2 separate regions of the Homo sapiens genome follow, and region 1 is linked to region 2. The links are contacts of gene promoters, found by promoter capture Hi-C in blood cells and fetal thymus (Javierre and others, 2016). All regions are on one chromosome and are shown on one strand. The core of a region is centred on a gene start or on the middle of the fragment in contact, and the rest is flanking DNA. Distances in the headings are between cores, read along the strand shown. Region 1 holds the start of PIK3R2 (phosphoinositide-3-kinase regulatory subunit 2). Region 2 holds the start of CIST1 (colon, intestine and stomach enriched 1).

Region 1 (6,828 bases), core at 145-2,644, 100 kb before region 2:
CCATGGCTCAAAGTCATTGCAAGTGGGTTTTGAGGACTGCATAGCAGTTCGCTGTTGAGATTCTTCCTGATGCCATCGCTGGTACCAGCCTCCTGCTACCCTCTCCCTGCGAGTACTCCATCATAGCCCTGCCTTTAAAAGCTTCCTCCAGACATCTGGGCCCTGAGCTATGTTTTTTATTTTTATGTTTTTGAGACAAGGTCTCGCTCTGTAACCCAGGTTGGAGTACAGTGGCGCAATCACGGCACATTGCAGCCTCGACCTCCTGGGCGCCCTGGGCTATGTTAATAAAATAAATAAGCGGCGGGGCGCGGTGGCTCACGCCTGTAATCCCAGCACTTTGGAAGGCCAAGGCGGGCGGATCTCCTGAGGTCGGGAGTTCCAAACCACCCTGACCAACATGGAGAAACCCCGTCTCTACTAAAAATACAAAATTAGCCGGGCGTGGTGGCGCATGCCTGTAATCCCAGCTGCTCGGGAGGCTGAGGCAGGAGAATCGCTTGAACTCGGGAGGTGGAGGTTGCGGCGAGCCGAGATAGCGCCATTGCACTCCAGCCTGGGCAACAAGAGCGAAACTCCGTCTCAAAAAATAATAACAAAATAAGCAATCGTCGCGTCCTTTCTATCCTGGTCTTAGCTTGCGCTCTGCCATAAAACTCCCTCTAGCCGAACCCGGCCCAGCCCTAGAGCAATCCGTTACTTCCGGGGCGCTCAGCCGGCATGCAAACACTCTTGGCTACAGCCCCATCTCCGAGTGCGTTCGGCTATTTCCGGAAACCGTCGGCATCTAGGCTCAAGTCCGCTAAATTCTAGTGCCCGTAGGGGTCGAGATCGTTGGCTGTTTCCGGACGCTCTGGGTTGCCATGGAAACTCCTTCAACCCTGGCTTTCTCCGACTTCTGCTTTTTGCGGCAGGCCCTTTCCCCACTCTACTGCCCCCTGTTTGCTGAGCTTGAGAACGCCTCATTTGTCCCCTGGAACCATCTATGCTTCAGTAATTCCCATAAGCTGGCGGTCGCCTCTGGGTCTAAACTCCCAAGGCCTCCATTGGGCACTGAGCACATTCGGTTATTTCCAGAAACGCTCCGCGGTCTTGGGGATCAGCCTCAGTTGTGCCAGTGCGGCCGTAGAGAGTGTTCGGCCATTTCCGAAAGCGCTCGGGCGTCTCTAAGCCCAGCCGAGCCCAGTCTCGGATCCCTCGCCGACCCGATTGCACTCGGCTACCTCTGGAAACGCTCGGCTGTCTCGGGGGCACCCTCTAGTCCACCAGTCCCGCGGGATTACGTTCGGCTACTTCCGGAAACACTCGGGTGCCCCCTTACCTCAGGCTCCGCCTCGGCCTCGGTTCATCCGCCCGGCTCGAATGCGCTCGGGCATTTCCGCCGGGGGCGGGCCAGGCCGCTCGGAACCGTGGCGGCGGCGGAGGCGGGGATCCCGCGGCTGCGGCGACGGTGGCCGCGGTGGAGCCACGGGGCGGGCTTGGCTTGGTGTGACGGCGGCTGCGGCGGCGGTGGCGGCCGCGACCAGGTGAGTCCTGACTGGCCCTCGTGGCGGGGGCGGCTGGGAGTGTGCTTAAATGCGGGGCGCCCGGGGGCAGTGCCGGGCCCCGGTGGAAGCCAGAACGCAAGCGCCAGGCTGCGTCGGGCCCCGCGGGAACTGGGGGGGCCGCAGGCAAGGGGGGGCCTCGGGCTCGGCTCCGCAGCGGTGCAGCCTCCTTGGGACGGTCGGGGCAGAATGGGGAGAGACTCCCCGCGTCCAAGATACCGGACTGGAGCCGAGGCCCCAAATGAAGGGAGGCCCTGCCTGGAATGGGGCTTCGAATAGTACCGAGGGGCGCCCAGGCATTGTGCGGGGCAGAATGGGGTGCGGGAGGGCCGGGGGTCGAACCCACTTCCGGTCCCCTAGCCGGGTGGCCGGGTCCACGCAGACCCAAGTGCGCGTCTGTGTGAGCGCTCAGGCCCTGCCTTCACCCGCGGAGCCCCCAGCCCTGCCTGCCCCGCCCCTCCCGCCTCCCGGATTCGGGGAGCGCTGCTCCCGGGGCGCGCACACCGGGGCGTGGGGGCGGGCTGGCAGGCAGATCCAGGCGGTTTTCTGGGCATCCCCTCTCGGGGCCTCAGTTTCCCCACCTGTAGAATGAGGGTAACAGAGGCCTAGGAATGGGTAAATTGGGCACCCGAGAATGTGGCGCCCCTCCGCCCTGCTCGGACACCTCTTGGGGTTCCCCGTGACTGAAGGATGCTCAGAGCCTCCACCTGACACTCGGGCCTCTTGGTGGATAGCACCTATCCTTATAGCCACCCTGAATCCTTGACAAGCAACTTAACCCACTGCCAAGGCTTTGCATGTGCCGTTCCGTCTGCCTGTCGCGCCTTCCTATCCGCTGTGATGATCCATTCTCTAGAACAGCACGTCCATCCCCCGACCCTAGCCCTGTCCATCACAGGGCGTCTGAACCCGCAGGGCTAGGCTGGGAATGTGTGCCTATCTCCGCCTCCCCAGGCTGGGACTCCTGGGGAATAATCAATGCCCTGCTGCCGGCAGCCTCCCCTCCTCCTCAGCTGCAGTACCCCCACCTTCTCCTGGCTCCCTGTCCCTGCCTGGGGCTAAGGTTCCTTCTAAGCACCTCCCCATCTGCATTTTGTGCCTACTCTGGGCCCCAGGCTGGAGCTACCTGCCAGCCCACTCACTCCTCCTCTGCAGAGACTGGAGGTCCATTTGCTTGGACTCACCTCGAGGCCTTTGCTTGTGTAGAGGCCTCTTCCTGGACTTTGTTCCCTACCTCTTAGTTCAGCTGGCCTGACCCCTCTATGGAGCTCCCAAAGCACCCGGAGTGGCCTCCATTGCGTCCTCCCTGCCCTAGGTATCTGGCCACCTGGCTGCTGCCCCCTCATGTCCAACTGGGCCAAGTCGGCAGATCTAGGTGTAAGTCCTGGCTTCCTCCTGGCCTACTGCACGGCCCTAGATACCTCCCTGCTCTGAGCCTCAGTTTCCCCATCTGTAACAGGGGTGATGAAAAGCCTGTTTACTGGCCGGGCGCGGTGGCTCACACCTGTAATCCCAACACTTTGGAAGGCAGAGGCAGGAGGACTGCTTCAGCCCAGGAGTTTGCGACCAACCTGGGCAACATAGCAAGACCCCACCTCTATTGGAAAAAAAAAAAAAAAGGCTGGGCAAGGTGGCTCATGCCTGTAATCCCAGCACTTTGGGAGGCCAAGGCGAGCAGATCACTTGAGGTCAGGAGTTCAAGACCAGCCTGGCCAACATGGTGAAACCTCGTCTCTACTAAAAATACAAAAATTAGCTGGGTGTGGTGGCCTGCTACTCGGGAGGCTGAGGCAGGAGAATTGCTTGAACCTGGGAGACAGGTTGCAGTGAGCTGAGATCACACCACTGCACTCCAGCCTGGGTGACAGAGCAAGACTCTATCTCAAAAAAAAAAAAAAAAAAAACTGATTTACTGAGCATGTAGTATACCTGGGGCAGGTTCTTGGGAACTCTACTCCCAGCAGCTCCAAGGGAAGGCTGTCAGTATACCCATTTTACAGATAGAGAAGCTGAGGCCCTGAGAGGGACCGGCCCCAAGGTCACCCAGTGATTCAGGGAATTCCAAATCAGGATTTGGGCCCATCTCCGTGTTGGGGGTGAGAGGAGTTGGCCTGGCTAACGCTGCCCTATCCCTGTCTCCCTAGGTCGGCGTCCTCAGCTGGCCGAGCATGGTGGCAGCCTGCACCCTTGGCTCCCTTGTCTGGTGCAGCCAGCAGAGCCGCCAGCCTTGGGCGCCCATGGCCCTCCGTGTGAGGGCGTGAGCGGCCTGCCCCAGCCTCACCTGCTGATGGAGGACTCAATGGCCCAGTGACCTGACACCACACCACCAACTCCCTCCCACCAGCTGACGAATGGTGGACCCAGTGACGAGTGGCCCTTGTAAGGGTCATGGAATAATTTGAAGCGAGGCATGAGCGGCCCCTGTGGTCGCCTGTGACTGCTGGAGATAGAGGTCCCAGCACCCCAAGCCAACCCAGCGGACCCTCCCAGCCCTGCTTCAACCAATGGGGCCAGTGGGGCTCCAAGCAGCCACCTAACCATCCAGACCCCACCCCACTCACGCGGCCATGGCGGGCCCTGAGGGCTTCCAGTACCGCGCTCTGTACCCGTTCCGCCGGGAGCGGCCGGAGGACCTGGAGCTGCTGCCCGGCGACGTGCTGGTAGTGAGCCGGGCGGCCTTGCAGGCGCTGGGCGTGGCCGAGGGTGGCGAGCGCTGCCCACAGAGCGTGGGCTGGATGCCCGGCCTCAACGAGCGCACACGGCAGCGAGGTGACTTCCCTGGCACCTATGTGGAGTTCCTGGGGCCCGTGGCCCTGGCCCGGCCCGGCCCTCGCCCACGGGGCCCCCGCCCACTGCCCGCCAGGCCCCGTGATGGGGCCCCTGAGCCAGGTGAGCAGCAAGCAGGGGCCCTGGAAAGGGGGGTGGTCCCCTCAGACCCTTGGTCTCCTCTTCTGTCCAGTGAGGCAATGGGATCTCCAAGGAAGGAGGAAAAAGGACATTTGGTCATTTGACAAGTGTCTTCAGTGCTAGGCTCAGCAGTGGACACAAGGCCTGTTCCTGCCCTCATGAGCTTCTGGTTCAAGAAGGGATGAGAGTGGGTTCAGGAGGTGACACATGCCATGAGGAAGGGGGCTTGCGTGGGAAGATGCGAGGGTGGAAGCTCAAGGCAGTGGGGGCAGCGAGGGCAGAGGCTGTGGAGTAGAACTCTAATGGCGGGAACGGCCAGCAGGAGGACCAGAGGGAGGAAGGGGAGGGCAATGTGCGCTGGCATGGAGGACTTAGTGGGATTGATTTTGAGGACAATGGAGAGTGTTCAGTAGGATTCAGAGGCTCAGCCTAGCTTCATCCTGCCTTTTGCAGACAGGGTCCCTTGAAGAACCCCTTTGGAGACCCTGATTTCCAAAATGAAGCCACAAGGAGGGTAGGATGTGGGCTGCTCAGCTGAGGCCACACAGCACAGTGGGATATGAGGACCCCACATCCCTCTTCAAAGACCCTTGGCCATCACCACTTGCCAGGGGTGTGCCAGGTGTAGAGAATCGGGGGCACCGAGCCCACTCAGTGACTGCTGTTTGATGGGCAGGGAGTGTGGGCTCTGGCCGGGGAAACTGTGGCCCAGGTTGCAAGGAGGAGGCTAAGAGGTGCTGCATGCTCGGCATGGTCTGCTCCGACCCTCCCAGCAGCCCAGCAAAAGGCCCTGTGTGCAGACCGGGAGGCCTGAGTGCAAGGCCGTCAAATGCCGTACTTGAAACCAGTTGGTCACCCAGGGAGGCCAAAGCCCCGGGAGGTGCCAGGCCTGCTTTGTGCCAGGGTGACATTGCCCAAAGGCAAACCAGAGTCCCCCAGCGCAGGGCGGAATAGGGGGTGCTGAGGTGGTGCGACGCTGGCCCCAGCCTCCAGGCATCTGGTATCTCCAGGGCCCAGGCCTGCGTCCTGCCTCGGCCTGAAGGAGCAGGAGGTGGCCCCGTCTGGGCTCCCAGCCAGAATCTGCCTCTCCCCCTGGTAACAGCCACCTCCCTCCTCTGCCTGGCCTCTGTCCAGCCACCATACACGGCCCCACGTGGGGCGGCTGCCCAGCCCCACCCTCTGAATCTTCCAGGGTTATGTGACCTCGGCCAGAACCCGCCCCCTCGAGGCCTCAGTTTCCTCATCTGGAAACAACAGGGTTGGTCCCTGGGGATGCTGGGACCCAACCCCTCGGAAATGTGCTGAAGTCACCTGAGCCCCACCTGGCTGTGCACCCACGGGGGAGGTTGCAGCCCCTCTGACCCACAATTCCTCACCTGCAAAGTCGGGGTGATGCAGTTCTGATGGGAACCCCCTCCCCATTCTGCAGATTGATCCCAGGCCACTCTCAGGGTTGAGTTTCCCAACCCACCGGCCAGAGTGTCACCCACCTCCACCTCCTCCTTGTCCTTTTCCTTTTTTTTTTTTTTTTTGGCGTTTTCGTTGCAGCTGGGCCTTTCTCCAGCTTGAGGCGCCACCTGGCCCATCACTCAGGGAGGCCCCGCAGGCCCCGGCTTGCCCCTGCTGTGTGCCAGGGCGTCCCCGCCGAGGGCCAGAGCAGCGTCCAATGGTGGCAGACAGCGAGCTGCTGAGGCGGGGATGCTGCACACAAAAGGCCCTGTAGTGCTGGGAAGCCAGGGCTGGGAGGGGGCTGGGCCCAGGATGCCGCCGGCACCCGCTAGGAGGGGTTTCAGCTTTTCCAAAAGGGGAGCAATAATTTTCTTTCTTTTCTAAATTTTAATTTGGGGAAGAAATAATTTTTTAGAAGCAAAATGATTAAGAAAACGGGTCATGGTCCTTGGAAGGAAGCTGTTCTGACCCAGGCCGGGATATTTTTCTTTTCTTTCCTTTCAACCACTTTTTTGTTTGCATCAAGAAGGGAGAAGCGGGCCGGGCACAGTGGTTCATGCCTGTAATCCCAGCACTTTGGGAGGCCAAGGCGGGTGGATCACTTGAGGTCAGGAGTTCAAGACCAGCCTGGCCAACAGGGTAAAACCCCATCTCTACTAAAATAATACAAAAATTAGCCAGGCATGGTGGCACCCACCTATAATTCCAGCTACTTAGGAGGCTAAGTCACGAGAATCGCTTGAACCCGGGAGATGGAGGTTGCAGTGATCCAAGATCATGCCACTGCACACCAGCCTGGGTGACAGAGCAAGACTCCATCTCAAAAAAACAACAACAACAACAACAACAAAAAACGAGGAGGCCAAGGCAAGTGGATCGTTAGGGGCCAGGAGTTTGAGGCTGCAGTGAGCTAGGATTGCGCCACTGC
Region 2 (7,219 bases), core at 2,141-4,640:
GGGGCTGTACCTCCCCCTGGTGGTCAGTTCCAAAACTGCAGCCTGTTACACCCGCCACCTCCCTACAAACACCCAAATCTCTTAATACTCACCTGGGCCAGGGGGCTCCAAGGTCTGGTCAGTGGAGGTCAAGGGCTCCGTTCCGGGGCTGTGGGAAGTGGGGCTCCAGTGCGGGGTCAGGGATTCGGAACTGGGGAGGGTGGAATGGGAAGAGGGGGTGAGCTCTGCACTGGGGGAGCCAGAACTAGGGTGCGTGATTGTCTCTGGTTGTGGGGAGGAGGGTATCATCCTTGAATCTGTGGAGCTGGGGCTCGGCTGGATGGTAGGGGTTGCCCCTGAACTTGAGGGGCTGAGGTGGGTTATGGAGTCTGTCTCCAAACTCATGGTGCTGGAGTAGGATTTGGGGGGTTCCCCTGAACTGTGGGTGCTGTGGGCGAAGGGAGAAGAAATCAGAGAGCTGACAGGTGATGTCTCCATACTGTTCTCTGAGGTCACAATATCTGGAAAGAAAAACTGGGCGCGGTGGCTCACGCCTGTAATTCCAGCACTTTGAGAGGTCAAGGTGAGAGCATCACTTGAACCCAGGAATTAGAGACCAGCCTGGGCAACATAGCGAGACCCTCTCTCTCTCTCTTTCTCTCTCTCTTTTTTTTTTTCTTTTTTTGAGATGGCGTCTCGCTCTGTCACCCAGGCTGGAGAGCAGTGGTGCCATCTCAGCTCACTGCAACCTCCACCTCCTGGGTACAAGCAATTCTCCTGCCTCAGCCTCCCAAGTAGCTGGGATTACAGGCGTGCATTACCACGCCTGGCTAATTTTTGCATTTTTAGTTTCACTGTGCTGGCCAGATTTGTCTCGAACTTCTGACCTCAGATGATCCACCTGCCTTGGCCTCCCAAAGTGCTGGGATTACAGGCATAAGCCATCATGCCCAGCCTTTTCATTTTTATTTTTAATTAATTTATTTTTTTGTCCAGGTCATAGGGAGACCTGAAAGATTTAGGACACCATGTGAGCTCTCAGTGGGAAACTGAAGCTCCCACTCAAATTCATGCTCCTGGTCTGAAGTCCCACAGCCTGGGTTCAAGTGCAGATCAGCGTTCCCAGTCCTCTTGGCTGAGAGCTCTAGAAGCCCTTTGGATATGGGAAGTGACTGCATCCCAGGCAGTGCTGGGCAGCTCCTTTAAATTTTCTGGGACTCAGTTTTCTTTTCTGTAAAATGGAGTTCATGTGGAGTTGGTGCCTCTGACAGTTCATCAGTCAGGTTCATAGTGGGTGTACACAAGCTGGGTGCTCCCAGCTACTGGGGAGGCTGAGGCGGGAGGATTGCCTGACCCCAGGAATTCAAGGCTGTAGTGCGCCATGATTGCGCCACTGCACTCCTGCCTGGGAGACATAATGAGACCTTGTCTCTACAAAAAAATAAAACAAAAATTAGCCAGGCATGGTGGTGCATGCCTAGTCCCAGCTACTCAGGAGGCTGAGGTGGGAGGATCGCTTGAGTCCAGGAGTTCAAGGCTGCAGTAAGCCATGATCATGCCACTGAACTCCAGCCTAGGCAACAGAGTGAGACTCCGTCTCAAAAAAAAAAAAAACACACACACACAATAGAATAGAAACACAGTGGGTGCACAGTGACACTCAACTATAAAGATCCACCTATGAGCTCAGAGAGGATCAGCCCTAATTTTCTCCAGGTAGCCCTAGGCTAACCTCAACTTTAATGGAAGACACAAAGACACAGGCGCTGGGAACATGTCTCCGGAACCCACCCTTCTACGTGTTGGTCCAGCTACTTCCTGGCTCACATCCCATCCCAGGCATGGAGTCCAGGGACCAGGCTGAGGGCAGGTAAGCAGTTCATGAGCCACCTCCCACAACGACTTCCCACCCAGTTCCAGGTGACTGGGCCTCTTAGGCACTTACAAGTTCATTCATCAACTCTCTGCTCCACCCATGCACTCTGCTCTGGGCCAAACTTTGTGCTTCCTCCTTGACTCACCCTAGGCAGCAGAAATGCGGAAATAACACACAACACTGGCCCTGAGAGGGGGCTGGGTCCACATGCCACCCTCCCCAGATCTCTATGTAGCCCCCCAGGCCCTGTGGGGATGACGGCTGAGTCTAGAAGAGGCATGGAACTCAGGCTGGGCTTCATCCCCATTTGACAGATGAGAAACTGAGGCTCAGAGTAGCAGAGGGTCTGGCCTGAGGTGACTGGGGAGCTGGGAAGAACGCCCCTCAAGGACCCTTGTCCTCTGTTTCTGCTGAAATGAAGATGATTCAGAGGCCAGAGTGGACCCCAAGCCAAGTCAGAATTCTGGGGAGCTGAGTGCTTAGTGAACTGAGGAAAAGCTGTGGACTTGAAAAAGGAAGAGTTGGAGGACACAAGCCCTGTTGAGTGCCTGGCACTGAGTAGGCACTGGTGAGCTGCTGAAGGGTTGACCAGAAGGTAAAAATAAAGATGTTTCTAGGCACTGTGCTGGGTGTTTGCTCTCCCCAGAGACTCCTAGACTGGGAGGCTCACATGAGCCAAGTCAACCAGTTCTAATCTGGGTCTGGGACAAGCTGGACTGAGCCTCAGTTTCCTGAGCTATGAAATGGGGATAAAAGTGGTGCCTTCTGAATGAAACCCTTCCCTGCAATGAGCATTTCAGCAGCCATGGTGGCCTCTGCTCTGCTATTACAGGTCTGTGGGGTAGGACACCGGTCAGAGAGAGTGACAACATAGTGGCAGGTAAAGGGCAGAAAAAGGGAATGCGAGAAGCTCAAGGCTCCTCCCCTCCACCCTAGGCACTGTCTTATAGGAGAGCAAGAGGGAATTAAGTCAGACACCCAGAAGAACTTCTCATGGGAACCACAGATGTTTGATGACCAGGAAGTGAGTCCCTGTTCCCTGGAACCCCCATGGCCCTGAGGTCTTCACCATTCTCCCTTTGGGGATTGGCTAAAAGCAACAGATTTGAAAAGGAGCCCAAAAGTAGGTGTGAGGCCATCTGTGGCCTCCAGCAGGTTCAGGGCTCACTGGAGTTGCAGGACCCACAGCCCCAGGGCTTGGGAGCAGCGGTGCCTCATCTGTCCTCACAGCTGCTCCGTTTGTTTCTGGGGGAAAACCCAGCCTTCCTCGGAGGGTTGGCGGACCAGCGTGGCCTGAGGGAGGGGTCCAGAAGCCAGGTGTGTGACTGGGCTGTGCGTCCCCCACCCCCACCCTTCCGCTTTCTGGAAGCTGAGCCTCTTTACCAGCTCTTACCTGTAAAGGGAGTATTGTAATTCACACCAGCTTTCAGCAGCACCACCAGCACCAAAAGCAGAAGTGGCGGCAGCTGGGGGCACGCCATTCCTGCGCCGGGAGGGCCTGCCACCGGCTCTGCACAGGTGTGTGGCCAGGTGTGTGCCCAGGTGCCAGCTCCTTGCACCTGCGTGTGCGCTCCCTGCTGGCGGAGCGCGGGGCTGTGCAGGGGCAAGGCGCAGGTGGGGCTGCAGGGTGTGGGACCTCCCTGGGGCGCTCCTGTTCCCCCGGGTGCGGTTCTCGCCCTCTTCACCTGGACTCCACCCCTTCTAAACACGACGACCCAGAAGCTCTCAAAGCCAGTCATCCACTAAAGACACCCTGCCCCTGCCGTCCTCTTTCCCCCTGCTCCTGGTTCCACAGCTGCCCAAACCCCTGCTGTCACTCCCTCTGCCCCTCGTCCAGCCAGGTTGTCCCCTCTGGGAGCACCAATTTCTCCCACCTCCCTCCGATCCCTGAACCCACAGGGCTGGGGATGTCCTTGTTCTCTGTCCTCGTCCTCCTCTGTCCTCTGTCTCACCCAGACTGGGGCCTTTTGGGGACATGACTGAAACCTTCTAACCTTCTAGCATTTCTATTATGGATTTCTTTTTCTTTCTTTTATTCTTTTTTTTTTTTGAGACGGAGTCTTGCTCTGTCACCCAGACTGGAGCGCAGTGATGCAATCTTGGCTCACTGCAACCTCTGCCTCCCGGGTTCAAGTAATTCTCCTGCCTCAGCCTCCCGAGTAGCTGGCGCCCGCTACCAGGCCTGGCTAATTTTTGTATTTTTTAGCAGAGACAGGGTTTCACCATGTTGGCCAGGCTGGTCTCGAACTCCTGACCTCAAGTGATCCACCCGCCTCGGCCTCCCAAACTGCTAGGATTACAGGCATGAGCCACCGTGCCCAGCCCTTTTTTTTTTTTTTTTTAAGAGACGGGGTCTCACTCTGTCGCCCAGGCTGAAGCACAGTGGCACAATCACAGCTCACTGCATTCTCAAACTCTGGGATTCAAGCAACCTCCCGCCTCAGCCTCCCAAGTAGCTGCGATTACAGGCGTGTACCACCATGCCCGGCTAATTTTTTTTTTTTTTTTTTGAGACTGAGTTTAGCTCTTGTTGCCCAGGCTGGAATGCAATGGCACAATCTTGGCTCACCACAACCTCCGCCTCCCGGGTCCAAGCGATTCTCCTGCCTCAGCTTCCTGAGTAGCTGGGATTACAGGCATGTGCCACCATGGCCGGCTAATTTTGTATTTTTAGTAGAGACGGGGTTTCTCCATGTTGGTCAGGCTGATCTCGAACTTCTGACCTCAGGTGATCTGCCCACCTCGGCCTCCCAAAGTGCTGGGATTACAGGCGTGAGCCACCGTGCCTGGCCTTTTTTTGTTGTTGTATTTTTTTTTAGTATAGATGGGGTTTTACCATGTTGGCCAGGCTGATAGCTCTAACTCCTGACCTCAGGTGACCCACTCGTCTTGGTTTCCCAAAGTGCTGGGATTACAGGCATGAGCCACCACACCCAGCCATCCTGTAGGATTTTTTAGGGGTGAGGGACTTGAGGTGAGTGCTCTGGGCCAGGTCCCAGGCACATTTCTAGAGTGCACTGGGGACAGTTTCCATCTGGGACGGGCTGGACACCACCCCACTACCTGTACGTGGATATGGCAGAGGCACAGCTGAGACCACATTGGCAGTGCCTGACCTCCAGGAAAGATTTGAGGTCCCCATGCTGGCCACAGACCCCAGATGCATACTGCATGGTTGGTAACTTCAGAGTTCTCTTCCCTCTGGGATGTTCCAGATTCCCCCACTATACCCAAGCCACTTCCATTAACCCAGAACACATCACCCAAGATCTAGGCTGTGGAGGACTTTATTCATTAGACCCAGAGAGCCATGAGTGCCTCCCACGAAGTCCCCACTGCAGGGAGCCAGGGTCCTAGATGCCAGGCCAATGCATGTGCCGTGAGCTGGCCGAGGGGTCTGCTGGTCCCAAGAGCGCCTCTGTGTTCTTCAGACAGCTCCGGGTATGGTGGCCTCGCCAGGTGGCTTGAACTATCTTCGCTGCCATTTGCTGCTGCCTCATCTGCTGGCGGATCTTAAAGCCCCTCCAGGCGGACTGGATGGCTGTGGCCGCTTTGTCCTGGCGATGCGGCTGCCTGGGACTCAGGGCAGCCAGCTGGTAGGCGGAGGCCCAAGACACTGCCCCGGGGCCCTCAGTGCCCTGGCCCATGCCCTGCACCACACGGGTGGGCTGTGTGCGTCCACAGGTATGACAGGTGCGAGGGCTGGAGCCCACTAGCATCACCACGCTGGGCGGGCTCCCGATCCTGGAGCTCAGGGAGTGGCAGACGCTGCAAGCGTGTGCCTGGCAGGACTGGAAGCAGCGATGGTCAGATACTGTCCTGGCTCTGCCATCCTGGAACCAGCTTCGGTCAGACATGACCCCGGCCCGGCTGCCCAGCTCCACCCACGTGACGGGGTGGAGCATCTGCCAGTGCCGGGCTTGGTCCCGGCGGGTGCTGTAGCCGCGCCAGGCAGACTGGATGGTCGTGGTGGCTCTGCAGAGGTGTGCCAGGTTCCGCCGCACACGGTAGCCGCGCCAAGTAGCTTGGATGACCATGGCCCCCCGGTGCCACAGCCGGATCCTGCGACGCGCCAGGTAGCCACGGACGCCCGCCTGGATAGTGATCACTGCGAGGATGCGGATCTCCTCTGCAGCCTGCATGGACACCATTGGCTCCCCGGACCGCCTGGGAGGCACCACCGCCTTGTTGCGCCAGGTGTCCCAGGACGCAGCACCCCTGGCTGGCTCCCATGCGCGGTTCCACGATTGGCCACCAACCACACCAGCGTCCGCGGGGCCCTGGAGTATAGTGGAGTTCAGGGATGCCTTGTGACTAACGGCAGGATTCTGGGGGCTATAGGAGTCCTGCCGTCTCCACGGTGACTCCTGGTTAAAAAGGGGTGGCAGGGAACCACTTGGGGAAGACTCATAGCCTAGAGACACCCTCCGAACTCCCGGGGCCAGCGGAGGAATGACCGAGGAGTGTGTCATCTCCCCAGTGCGGATGACGGGCCTTACCTCTGCAGAGGGCCTGTGGGTGGGGTTTGCACCACTTCGGGCTGAGGCCTGGGATGGTTGTCTTTGCACATACTGTAAGGGCCTAACCCTGGCCACAGAACTTTCTAGCAGTTCTGGAACAATCCTACCATGCACGGATCTGTAGGAATTTTTAGGGCCCATGGCGTCCCAGCGGCTGCTCGGAGCCATGTTTCCAGACACTGTTTTCTGGAGTGGATTGGGGACAGCTTCTGTCTGGAAGGGACTGGACAATGCCCTTCTAGCCGAGGACGGATATAGTGGCACATGTGAGACCATGCTGGTGGTCCCTGACCTCTGAAGAAGACTAGGATTCCCCATCCTGCCCACAGACACTGAAAGCAATCTGAAAGCCTCAGTACTGCCACGGGCCAGCTGGGGTGATCCTGAGACTACATTAGAAGCCACTGTACCCTGAGAGTGATTTGGGGGTATGACGTGAGTGACAGACCCCTGTTGATAAACTGAGGGGGACTTAGTGGCTAAACCCGGGGCCTGGAAAGGGACAGGGACCATGCCACTAGCATGGCTGGGAGCCACCTCCCTTGGGGAAGAGACCCTTTCTCAGACAGGGACCTATGATCATGGCCCCCATCAGCTCCCAGAGGACTGGAGTACATCCACTGGGTTGCACCAGTGACCCTGGCTTTGCTGAATAGGTCATTGGATCCACTTGATCCTGACACTTGGAACACAGCCTCATCCAATTCTCCTAGCTTGGCTTGGTCCCCTGTGACCCCAGATGGCATTATCCTAGCATCTTGGCTCAATTGTAAGGCTCTTGATAGAACCGTGGGCACTCGGTGTAGACTCCTCACTGTGCCACTAGCTGCCGGGGCTGAGGAGT

The links. Contacts are between HindIII fragments. The CHiCAGO score rates a contact against its expected background, and 5 or more counts as called.
Region 1: the fragment with the promoter of PIK3R2 here is called in contact with the fragment with the promoter of CIST1 in region 2 in 16 of 17 cell types (neutrophils, total B cells, naive CD8 T cells and 13 more); the score reaches 17.3 in neutrophils.

What each region holds. Positions count from the first base shown.
Region 1 is chr19:18,151,769-18,158,596 of GRCh38, forward strand. It overlaps PIK3R2 (phosphoinositide-3-kinase regulatory subunit 2), which reads left to right and starts at 1,395. Exons shown (of 16, transcript NM_005027.4): 1 at 1,395-1,526; 2 at 3,689-4,433. The coding sequence starts at 4,112. RefSeq lists enhancers at 146-225, 768-1,660, 966-1,245, 4,858-5,716 and silencers at 1,356-1,735, 2,046-2,265. The HindIII fragment of the contact is 8,629 bases long and covers 140-6,828 here.
Region 2 is chr19:18,251,972-18,259,190 of GRCh38, forward strand. It overlaps CIST1 (colon, intestine and stomach enriched 1), which reads right to left and starts at 3,391. Exons shown (of 4, transcript NM_001396036.2): 1 at 3,249-3,391; 2 at 93-500. The coding sequence starts at 3,336. It overlaps IQCN (IQ motif containing N), which reads right to left. Exons shown (of 4, transcript NM_001145304.2): 4 at 5,127-6,135. The coding sequence ends at 5,209. It also overlaps a transcript of PDE4C not described here. The HindIII fragment of the contact is 13,123 bases long and covers 1-7,219 here.